Regions from separate parts of the Homo sapiens genome. Here region 1 is linked to region 2. Evidence: promoter capture Hi-C in human tissues and cell types (Jung and others, 2019). All regions are on one chromosome and are shown on one strand. Each heading gives the region's core, a stretch centred on a gene start or on the middle of the fragment in contact. The rest is flanking DNA. Distances are from core to core; before and after follow the strand shown. Region 1 has its middle 56 kb from the start of LINC01220. Region 2 holds the start of BATF (basic leucine zipper ATF-like transcription factor).

Region 1 (5,262 bases), core at 1,911-4,410, 170 kb before region 2:
ATGTGGCCTTGACTCGGAGGTGGTTTGGCATCATATCAGTCAGAGGCTTTGACTATAAGGGAAAAAGGGAAATTACAGGAAGGCTATCAGGGGTTCACAGAGTTGTTGGGGGTTAGAAAAGCAGGCTTGGAAAGTGACCAGGAGTGACGCAAAGAGCACAAAGGCGTTTTATCTGGGTCAGGCTGACCCCAAATTGCTGCCCCTGCTCCCAGCCTCCAGAGCACTGTCACCATTGCCATCAGACATACTACCTCTTCCTCAAATGCCCCTGAACTGGCCCTTTGCTTCGGTCACTCATTCCAGCCTCAAAATCCCTGGTAGGAATGGCTGATTAGCTGAGCCTAGGTCACGTTCCCAGGCCTGCTCAGTGTGGCGGAGGTCAAAAAGAGAACCTCCTCATTTCCATTTCTGGAGGTGGTTGGAGATGGGGAGGGACTGCATTTATCCCATACCGCACAATGGGGAGTTGTCCCAGATGATTAAGGGAGTTAATGCTGGACAATCAAAAACTCCTGATGGATTTCTACTCTGAAGAGCATCTGGGGCATGTTTGATGTTGTACAGACAGCAGACCCTACCCACTACTTCATTCATGGTGCCTGGTTGGAGACTGAGGAAGCCAGGCACCACCATCATAAATCCTCAGACCTCATCACGAAATACCTGATGGTTCTGGAGATAAGTACCTGCTGCCTGGGCCTCTTGGTAGGCCTTGCTGCCCTGGGGCTGGTATGGGGCTGGAGCGGATCCACAGCCAGACACTTTATGAGGCAACCAGAAGAGAGGTTAGAAACATGGAGATGCCAGCCTTCCCCACATGTCAGTCTGGGAGAAGCATGGCGGAGGATAATCCCAGGAGTTAACTGGCAAAGGAACAAAGGAAGAGGCATGATCACTTGTACTGGGAGTCAAGACCATGCCCTGGGTGATACCCCCTATTCCCCAATAACAAGCAATTAACATTTGTGTGAGGTTCCTATTTTTTAGGCACCTTCCTGTATGTTTGACAAAAAAAGGGTTTTTTTGTTTGTTTGTTTGTTTGTTTGTTTGTTTGAGATGGAGTCCTGCTCTGTCACCAGGCTGGAGTGTAGTGGTGCTTTCTCGGCTCACTGCAATCTCCATCTCCTGGGTTCAAGTGATTCTCCTGTCTCAGCCTCCTGAGTAGCTGGGACTACAGGCACTTGCCACCATGCCCGGCTAATTTTTGTATTTTTAGTAGAGACAGGGTTTTACCATATTGGCCAGGCAGGTCTTGAATTCCTGACCTCAAGTGATCTGCCCGCCTCGGCCTCCCAAAGTGCTGGGATTACAGGCGTAAGCAACCGCACCCAGCCAAGAAAAGGATTTTAAATGGCGAAATAATAATATAGTAAATGTTTTCCTTAGGTTTGAATGAGGTTATACAAGATGGGGTCTTCTTGAGGGCAGGGACCACTTTTTTACTTGCCTTTGCCTCTCTGGTGTATAGCATAACAACTGGGGGATGATTAAGTGCTCAGTAACTGTTTATTGGATGAACGAAGACTAGCAATTGTGTGAGAACCAATGTCATTAAGTTGATACTTAGGGGCAGGTTGAGCAGCTGTGGTTGGGCTGCTTGGTTGAGACAAGGTTGAAATTCTTCAAGATATGGGGCTTATTGAGGGGTTAGGTTGCAGACCAAGCACTCCAGGCTGAGAGGTGATTGCTATGTGTTCACCAACCTCCATTTCCTTTTCCTTTTGGGCACATGGCTAGATTACATTTCCCAGCCTCTCTTGTAGTTTGCTGGGGCATGTGACTCAGTCCCGACCAGTGGGATGCAGGTGAAAGTGCCGTATACCACCTCTGGTCCTGGTTCCTAAAAGTGTCCCCTGTGATCCATCACTCTCTCTGGTCTTTCATCTGCTGGCTGTACACTGAGGATGTAGTGGGGGATTCCAAGTCTTAGGAGATAACAGAGCCACTAGGGAAAGGGCTTGGGTCCCTGAATGACTATATGGAGCAGAGTTCCTCACCTTTGATTTCTCATTGATCTGTGACAGAAGTAAGAAATTAACCTGTATTGTGTTAAGCCACTGAGATTTTTGGTTGTCACAGAGTGGTCATTAGCTACCCTACTACAGGACAACTCATTTTAATCTGGGGAGGGAGAGAGTGGTGCTAAGTATTGCTAGTTATGGCAGAGGCCTGGCTGCAATTTTCCTCCCCTAAACTGAAAACAAACAGATGTGCTCACAGACATAGAGAAGTTAGGAGAGAGAGAACCAATTGTCAGGGAGGACTTGGGACCCTTCTAAGCTTGAAGGTTTTAAGGTGACAGGGATATATCCAAGTGGACGTTCTGTGGGCCGGGCCTGAGATTTAGTTAGAATTTGTCCTCAGAGAAGTGGTCACTGAAGCCATAAGAGAAATGGCCTACTTGAGGAAGAGCTTATGAAGGGAAAATGGTGTGGCATCCAGGACTGAGTCCTGGTGACTTTCCAGAGTTAGAAGATGGCAGGAGGGGGAGGAGGAGCTGGTGAAGGTGCCATCTGAGCAGTAGGAGGAGATGCCTGTAGAGACACACCAGCCAAGGGTGGAGGAAGATTCCAGTAGTAGGTGGGGATCACATACAGAAGAGATTAGACCTTGGATATTGAAGAGACTCAGAAAGGACCTTCCTTCTCCAAGGACCGAGATGAATGGAGAGAAAAGGCCACATGTGAGGGTGGAAATATGGAGGAGATAAGAGGAGAAGCCAACCTTCTCTACAAAATGATAGAGCTGCTGGCTTGTGATTGGCAGGCAATTGTATCATTGTAGCTGGGTGATCTTGCTTTGCTATGGCTGCAAACTGAGCTCTCCAGGCATTGGTCTGAGTGATTTGCACCAGAGGGTGGGGAATAGGGGAGTTGCTTTGGTATTCTGGTGTCTGGAGCTTGAGATAGGGGAGAGAGAAGGGCAAAGGAGGGGTAGCATGAGATCCCTGTGAGCAGAAAGGGGCCAGGACTCAGCTGAACTTGGGCATAATTGCATGACTTAGCTAAATTTGGGTATAACAGCTAATGTGACTTCATCTTGTATGCAGAATCTGGTGAGGTTACACAAGTTAAACTCCACAGTTCCTTTGGTCATATGGGTATATAACACAGGCAGGCTGTTCTACCAGAGAACCCCCCAGTGTGGGTTTGGGCATACTTAATTTTACTAAGCTTTACTTTCTTTATCTGTAAAATGGGCCTTAAATAATTCCTACCTCAAAGGGCAATTGGTAGTATTAAATTCAGTAACATTCAATAGTGCATATAAAACACCTGATGCAGAGTAAAAGACTCAGTGAAAGTAGCTCAGTCTTATTTTATAGCTTGACTTTAGGAGCTCTGACATTTTGCATAGAACTTTGCCTTGTACAAAAAGCTTTCACATATGTTATATCAAATAATCCTTTGGCTCTGAGCTTTCATCCTTTTTTAAAATTCACACAGTAATGGGGGCATGCTGATTTAAAAAATGAAGAAATTCATAGTGGCTCCAAGTAACTTCTTCTAAGATCCAATTCAGTAGGAAAGAGAGCATCTGTTTCCCCACAGACCAAAGTTTAGGCCTGGCTGTCATTGGTTCAGATGGACGGTGTTTCTATCCTCCAACCAGTTGCTGTGGTGAGGAGAATGGAGTGCGTTGATTGGTTGAGTCCTAGGTTTGTGCTCTACTCTGAGGCCAGGAGAGGCCTCCATCTGAAGCTTTGGGAATGGGAGTGGGGTACCATGTTCTGTAGGGGAAATCAGGGCATCATTCCTGAAGATAGCATGAATGGAAGCTGGGTAGCAACAACAGCAGATATTCCTGAGTGTCAATGCTTGTCCAGAAGGGTGGGGTCTCCATCAGGTTCTCCAATCATATGCTTTCCTATTCCTCTAGTACAGAAATGTACCATGAACAGTCTTTGGTTCTCAGCTTTGGGTAAGGGCTGGAAAATCTCACAGCTGCAGCTGCCTTGACATCAGAGAGCGTAAAAGGACAAGGGCCTAGTATACAGAGGGATAAAGGATGTGACCTGGGGTCTGTCACAAACATTTTTAAGGCAGTTATGTGTGCCAGGCTCTGTGTTAAGTGCTTTCCTGGATGAGCCCGTTTTATTATCCTATGGCCAATGCCAAGGTAGGCATTGGCACTAATTTCCACATTGCAGGGGAGAAAACTGAGGCACATTCACAGAGGTTAAGAATTTTTTTTTTTTTTTTTTGTAGAGACGGGATTTCACCATGTTGCCCAGGCTGTTCTTGAACTCCTGCCCTCAAGTAATCCTCCCGCCTCAGCTTCCCAAAGTGCTGAGATTACAGGCAAGAACCTCTGTGCCCGGCTATAAGGGTAAGAAATTTTCCCACTCAAGGACACATGCCAGTAAGTGCCAGATCAAGAATTTGATCTGAATCATTTAATTTTTAGACTTCAAAAGACTGACAACCCAGGAGAAACTGAGGCAGCACTGGCTGTTGGGAGAGGAGCCTCTCAGAAGCACACATATAGGGGACTGCCGTTGGTTTGAGGCAGCTGGAAACAATCTTTAATAAGCAGCCCTCAGGACAACCAGTGACTCCTTTGCAGCAGGTGAGGGAGGGGCTTCTGGGAAATTCATTCGAACCACACCAACTCTCTTTAAGGTGGAGATGGATAATGGCAACCCACCCTCTCTTCCCTTCCCCATCACCTCCTGCTCTGTGTTAAGGCACAGCCAGGCTTCCCAGTGAACCTCCTACTCTCAAATGAGCCCTCTCACCTCTGGAGGGGCTGGTGGCCGTTGCTCCGTGGCCTCCTTCAGGGAGGCCTTACCTGGCCCTCCAGCCTAGATGGTGGCCTCTCATTGCCTTGGCCTCCTTGATTATTTTCCCTTAGCATCTGACATATATTGTTTATGTGTTATCTGCCTCTCTCAGTGGAATGGAAGCTCCAGAAGAACAGGATTTCACTTTGTTCAGAGTTGTATCCCTAGTGCCTAGAACAGTACTTGGCACATAGTAAATGCTAGTAAATATTTGTAGAATGCATGCCTGTTTCCCATCCAAGTACTAACCAGGCCCGACCCTGCTTAGCTTAGGAGGCTGAGGCAGGGGAATTGCTTGAACCAGGGAGGTGGAGGTTGCAGTGAGCTGAGATCACCCCACTGCACTCCAGCCCAGGCGACAGCAAGACTCCATCTCAAAAAAAAAAAAAAAAAAAAAAAAAAAAAAAATGCATGCCTGTTTCCCAGGCACTGTGCAATTTTTGCCTATACTATCTCACTGAATCCTCAGAGGTCTGTGG
Region 2 (4,878 bases), core at 654-3,153:
AAGAACCTTTCAGATGACCCACAGACTCATGAGCCAAATAAATGGCTTGAGTCATCGAAGTTTCTGGTAGTTTTTTGGGCAGCGAACACTGATAGACTATCTCATTTAGACAAAAAGTCAAGCTTCTTTTTACTAACTGTATCCTCAGTACTTAGTGCCTGGCACATGGTAGATGCACCATGAACGTTTGTTGAATATATTAATAAAGGTGTAAATGGTTTTAACATTCTATTGAGGGAAACAGGAAAAAGATAAATCAGTAAACGAATAAAATAAGTATAAAATTGGGTAACTGCTATGGGAGAAATGAATAGTAGCTGAGGTAGAGGATAAGAATGAAGGTGGAAGGGGAAACCCTCCATGGGCTCACTGTGTCTTTCAGAATGAAAGCTAAAATCCTGATGTTGGCCTCTAAGGCCCTCCCTGACCGGGCCATTACCTCACTGACCTCATCGCCTGCCACTTTTGCTGCCTCTGATATCCAACTACCTGGCCCCCCTGCTCTTTTTCCAATACTCAAGCACACTTCCACCTCAGGTCCTGGAATGTCCTTCCCTGAGACACTCACCATTCACTCCCTCTCTTTCTTCGAATCTCTGCTCAGGTATCCCCTCTTTGGGCAAGGCCCTTCTGACCACCCAGAATTCCCTAACCTCCAACCCTGCTTTATTTTCCTCCATAGGAAAGGAATTTTGTCTTACTTAATTTAACCTTAGGGCAATATTGTCTTAGTCTAGAAATTCAGCTCATGGATACAAAAATCCTCTAGGAGCCGTAACTTCCTGTCAATCCTAAAATTTAATAAGGCAAATGTTTGGCTTCGAGCCATACTGGGAATAAGGTAAGGCCTTTTGAAAAAGCCACGATGCCCAGGTGAGGGTTGAATTGATCACTGAGAACCCTACAAATGCGCTCATGGCAAGGCTGGGAATACCCTACACTTACCCTCTCGGTCATTTACTTCAGAGTCTGCGGGGCATTCTAATCCGCGTTGTCATTTGCTTTGTGCCACATTCCTAAGAGGTAGGCAGGGCAGGTTTTATCATCCTCTGTTTACAGATGAAGATAATGAAGGTCACATAGCTCAAGTGAGCTACCCAGGGCCACAGACATACAAAGTGGTAGAACCAGAATTTAAATCTTGGTTGGTCTGACTCCAAGTGTAGTATTTGTTTCACTTTTTCTTTCTTTCTTTCTTTCTTTTTTTTTTTTAACTGTTTCTGCATTCTGGGTTCTGACCAGGTGACCTTGAATCATAAAGATTCAGGGCCTGTCTTGAGCTGCTCAATATGGAAGGCATCTTTTCTCTAAAGAGTGTGAGCTCCCTGCCAAGCAGCACAGGCGCTTAATAGGCTTTCAGAGCAGCAATTCTAGAACCTCCCTTGTGGCTTTCTGATCTCCCACAGCCCTTGTGTTTGATGGTCAGGAAAGGAGAATACCCTTGGATCGTCTTATCTCCAGACCACCCCGAGGCTGGCTGGACTTAAGGGGTGAGGAAAGACAAGATGGGTGAGCAGCTGCTTTCGGCTGAAAACCAGAAAGAAATCCCAGTGTTTTTGCTTTATTTTGGTTTAAAAATCAAGTCGTATGACAATGGAAACATTTTCCTGGTTGTCCTCTCCTCTCTGCCCATGTTGACAGAAGACGGACTTGCTAATTCTGGCTGGGGTTTTTCCCTGCCTGGGCTGTTTTTCTCTTTTATCTTCATCAATTGAAGAGGGCTGCTGTGTCTTTCAAACTGTCGGAAGGTATCTGTATTTTTTTTTCTTTCACATAATTCTGTAGGTCTTTTCCCAGATATGTATTTTTCTCTCTAACTTCTAACTCGCTGAAGTTTCCGCCCATGTGACTTCCAGCGTGAGTTACCAGAAACCACAAGAGAGAGAGAGAGCGTGCAAGCCCCAAAGCGAGCGACATGTCCCTTTGGGGAGCAGTCCCTCTGCACCCCAGAGTGAGGAGGACGCAGGGGTCAGAGGTGGCTACAGGGCAGGCAGAGGAGGCACCTGTAGGGGGTGGTGGGCTGGTGGCCCAGGAGAAGTCAGGAAGGGAGCCCAGCTGGTGACAAGAGAGCCCAGAGGTGCCTGGGGCTGAGTGTGAGAGCCCGGAAGATTTCAGCCATGCCTCACAGCTCCGACAGCAGTGACTCCAGCTTCAGCCGCTCTCCTCCCCCTGGCAAACAGGTAGAGTCCTCCTTTTTCTCTCTCCTACCTTCTGATTCTCCTGGGGGATGGAAAGAGAGCCAGGCTTCCTTGTCCTGCCCAGGGAGCTGAGGATGGAGGAAGTGGCTCGTTGCACGGGCACTCTGTTAGACTTAGGACATGGAATTTGCTACTAAGCTGTGCATATTGGCAGAGATCCTCATCCTTCCACCCATTCTGCCAAAGCCCCTTTTTCTCTCCATTTTCCAAGGCTGCCTATCACCTCTGCCTCACTGGGGTTGCCACCCTAAAAAGCTTTCTAGGAAGCAAAGAGGAGGATGAACATCAAAGAATGCAGAGAAAAGAGTCTACTGTTCTCCAAGGCTGTAGAAAAGTGAGAGGAGTTTTCAAGTGGGCCGCTGGCATGCACAGCTCAAATCCTAGATATGCAGTTTCCCAGGAGACAGCCAATAGGGAAGGGGAGAAAAGGGGTTAGGGAAAAGTTAAAAAAAAAAAAAAAGAAGAAGAAGAAGAGGAAGAAGGAGGAGGAGGAGGAGAAACCCAGGCTAGCATAGAAGGATCTCTCTACTGGGGCACTGCCTCTGTTGCTAGCACAGCCAGCAAGGGGAGATGCTAGAGGTCCAGCCAATATCTCTTTGCTTGTGGCTTCTGGATAGGAGCAAGGAAATGAATGAGGAGGTGGCTCTGGAAATTTGTTGGAAGACATTTGCTGGTAGTTCATCTTAGCTCTGGGGAAACCAGAGAGACTGAGATAGGGATTGTGGGAGCATTTGGAGTCTAGATTGTGACTTCCAAGTCCAAAGGTTTTAGCTTGAGGATTACCAAAAAAGGAGTGCCCTGCCCATCTCACAGCTTCTAGGGTTTTGTTCTGCACCACACTCTTGACATCCCTTGCTGTAGGAAGCCCTCCTCTTTCTCATCCGACATGTATCCGTGGGTTAAAATTTTCTCAACCTTCATAGTTTAAAAACTTCATTCTTTCCTTAGCACAGATATCCACAAGGGTTTTCAAAATGCTGCAGCCAAAATAAAAGTATATAAATATTGAACAGGGCGTATATCCTAAGCCTCTAATAACGGAGCAGCAGGCTGGGATGAGTCTGGGTGGAGACCTCTAGAAGGCACAGAATCCAGTCTGCTGCTCAAGATGGTGTCAGAGTGGCTCTGACTGCCTGGAAGTTTGTACTTTTCTTAGGAAGGAAATTACTCATGGCTTCCATGGTAACCTGGTGCCCCATCCCCCTTAGAGGAAGAGCACTTCCTTCCTATCTATGCCAATGACCTCCTACCACAAAGGCCTGAAAGTATTGGACATGTTGGTGAGCCCAGTACTTAGTGATCCCAGAGCTTTGCCCTTGGATCTGTGCCCCTCTAGCCTGTGGGAGACGTGGAAGGGAACAGGGCATGAGTTGCCAGGACTCCTACACCTACACTGCAGCATCTGGGAGAGAACTGGAGCTAACCTCTCTGCCCAGGCACAGGACATGCCTCTCTCTGGGTGTAATTAGAGAACACCCAAAGATCCCCTTATCCTACCAAGCACCCATCTACTGCCCACCACAGCCAGGTCACCTCCACCATTAACGTTCTTTTTGGCATTGATGTGCCAGGCATTGTGCTGGGGCCATGGGGAATGTCACAGTGGCTGAGCACAACGGAAGGAAAGAGGAGGCAGATCTGGGATGCACCCTCAGCTCAGGAATGCAGCAGAAGACCACATGGGGTGCAGAGTAGCTAGCGGGGAAGGGTCTTGGAAAGCCATTGGGCTCAGCACCAGAAGATGTAGCACTCTCAGATGACCAGGAGTCCTTGGGCACACTCTTAGAGCCTCAGTTTCCTCACATATAAAATGGAAATGATGATATCAACTTCACAGCATTGGGGAATTAAACAAGAGCACTTCTGAAAGAACACTTGCCCAGAGGTTGGCATATAGTAGGCACTCAACAAAGTCTGAAAAAAAGAAAACAGCTAAAAGAACAGCAAGAAGAGCCTAAAGGCCAAAAAGTGAGAGGGCGAGGGTGGAGCAGCCCTACAGAGGAGAGGTGATAAAACACACTTCATCGCCTTAACCATTTTTTTTTTTTTTGGCCAAATACAGCTCTATTGAGTCCTCAAGTTCTCTTTTCTTTTTCCTGTAGCTATTGGTCAAAAAAGTCAGAGACCTGGGAATGTGTAAGCAGGCATGGAGAAGAGCTCTCCTTCGGGTGCAGGCTTTTGGTAAATAGAGGGATGGAGGGTTCATGCAGAGACGAAGGCATGGAAGGATGGCTGGACGGATACCACACACCACCAGAGCCTGCTTTCACTCAGAAGGGAGATGCAGACCCATGTAATCCTCCCCGTCTCTGCTTCCCAGGACTCATCTGATGATGTGAGAAGAGTTCAGAGGAGGGAGAAAAATCGTATTGCCGCCCAGAAGAGCCGACAGAGGCAGACACAGAAGGCCGACACCCTGCACCTGGTAAGTGTTCAGATCAATCTTCATCCTCGTGAGCTTTAGGCTTTGCCCTCCGCCATCTGGGAACCCTTGGACCATAGCTTTGATTCTGCTTGTGTGGGGATGTGTATGTGGGGTGGGTTAGTGGAGGGTGAGGGCCGTGGGGTGAGGTAGGGAAGGGAAGCTGTCGTGAGAGTGCTTTAAGAAGGCTCTGTAGTCCGGGCGTGGTGGCTCACACCTGTAATCCCAGCATTTTGGGAGGCCAAGGCGGGTGGGTCA

What was found. Contacts are between HindIII fragments. The study calls those that stand out against the background at their distance.
Region 1: a fragment that was not itself captured here is called in contact with the fragment with the promoter of BATF in region 2 in 4 of the 25 tissues and cell types used here (adrenal gland, dorsolateral prefrontal cortex, heart left ventricle and 1 more).

The regions. Positions count from the first base shown.
Region 1 is chr14:75,347,874-75,353,135 of GRCh38, forward strand. No RefSeq gene overlaps it. Among named protein-coding and RNA genes, the nearest start is that of LINC01220, 56 kb to the left of the region's middle. The HindIII fragment of the contact is 4,553 bases long and covers 885-5,262 here.
Region 2 is chr14:75,520,566-75,525,443 of GRCh38, forward strand. BATF (basic leucine zipper ATF-like transcription factor) reads left to right here and starts at 1,904. Exons shown (of 3, transcript NM_006399.5): 1 at 1,904-2,180; 2 at 4,519-4,623. The coding sequence starts at 2,118. RefSeq lists an enhancer at 1,872-2,201. The HindIII fragment of the contact is 4,535 bases long and covers 1-3,983 here.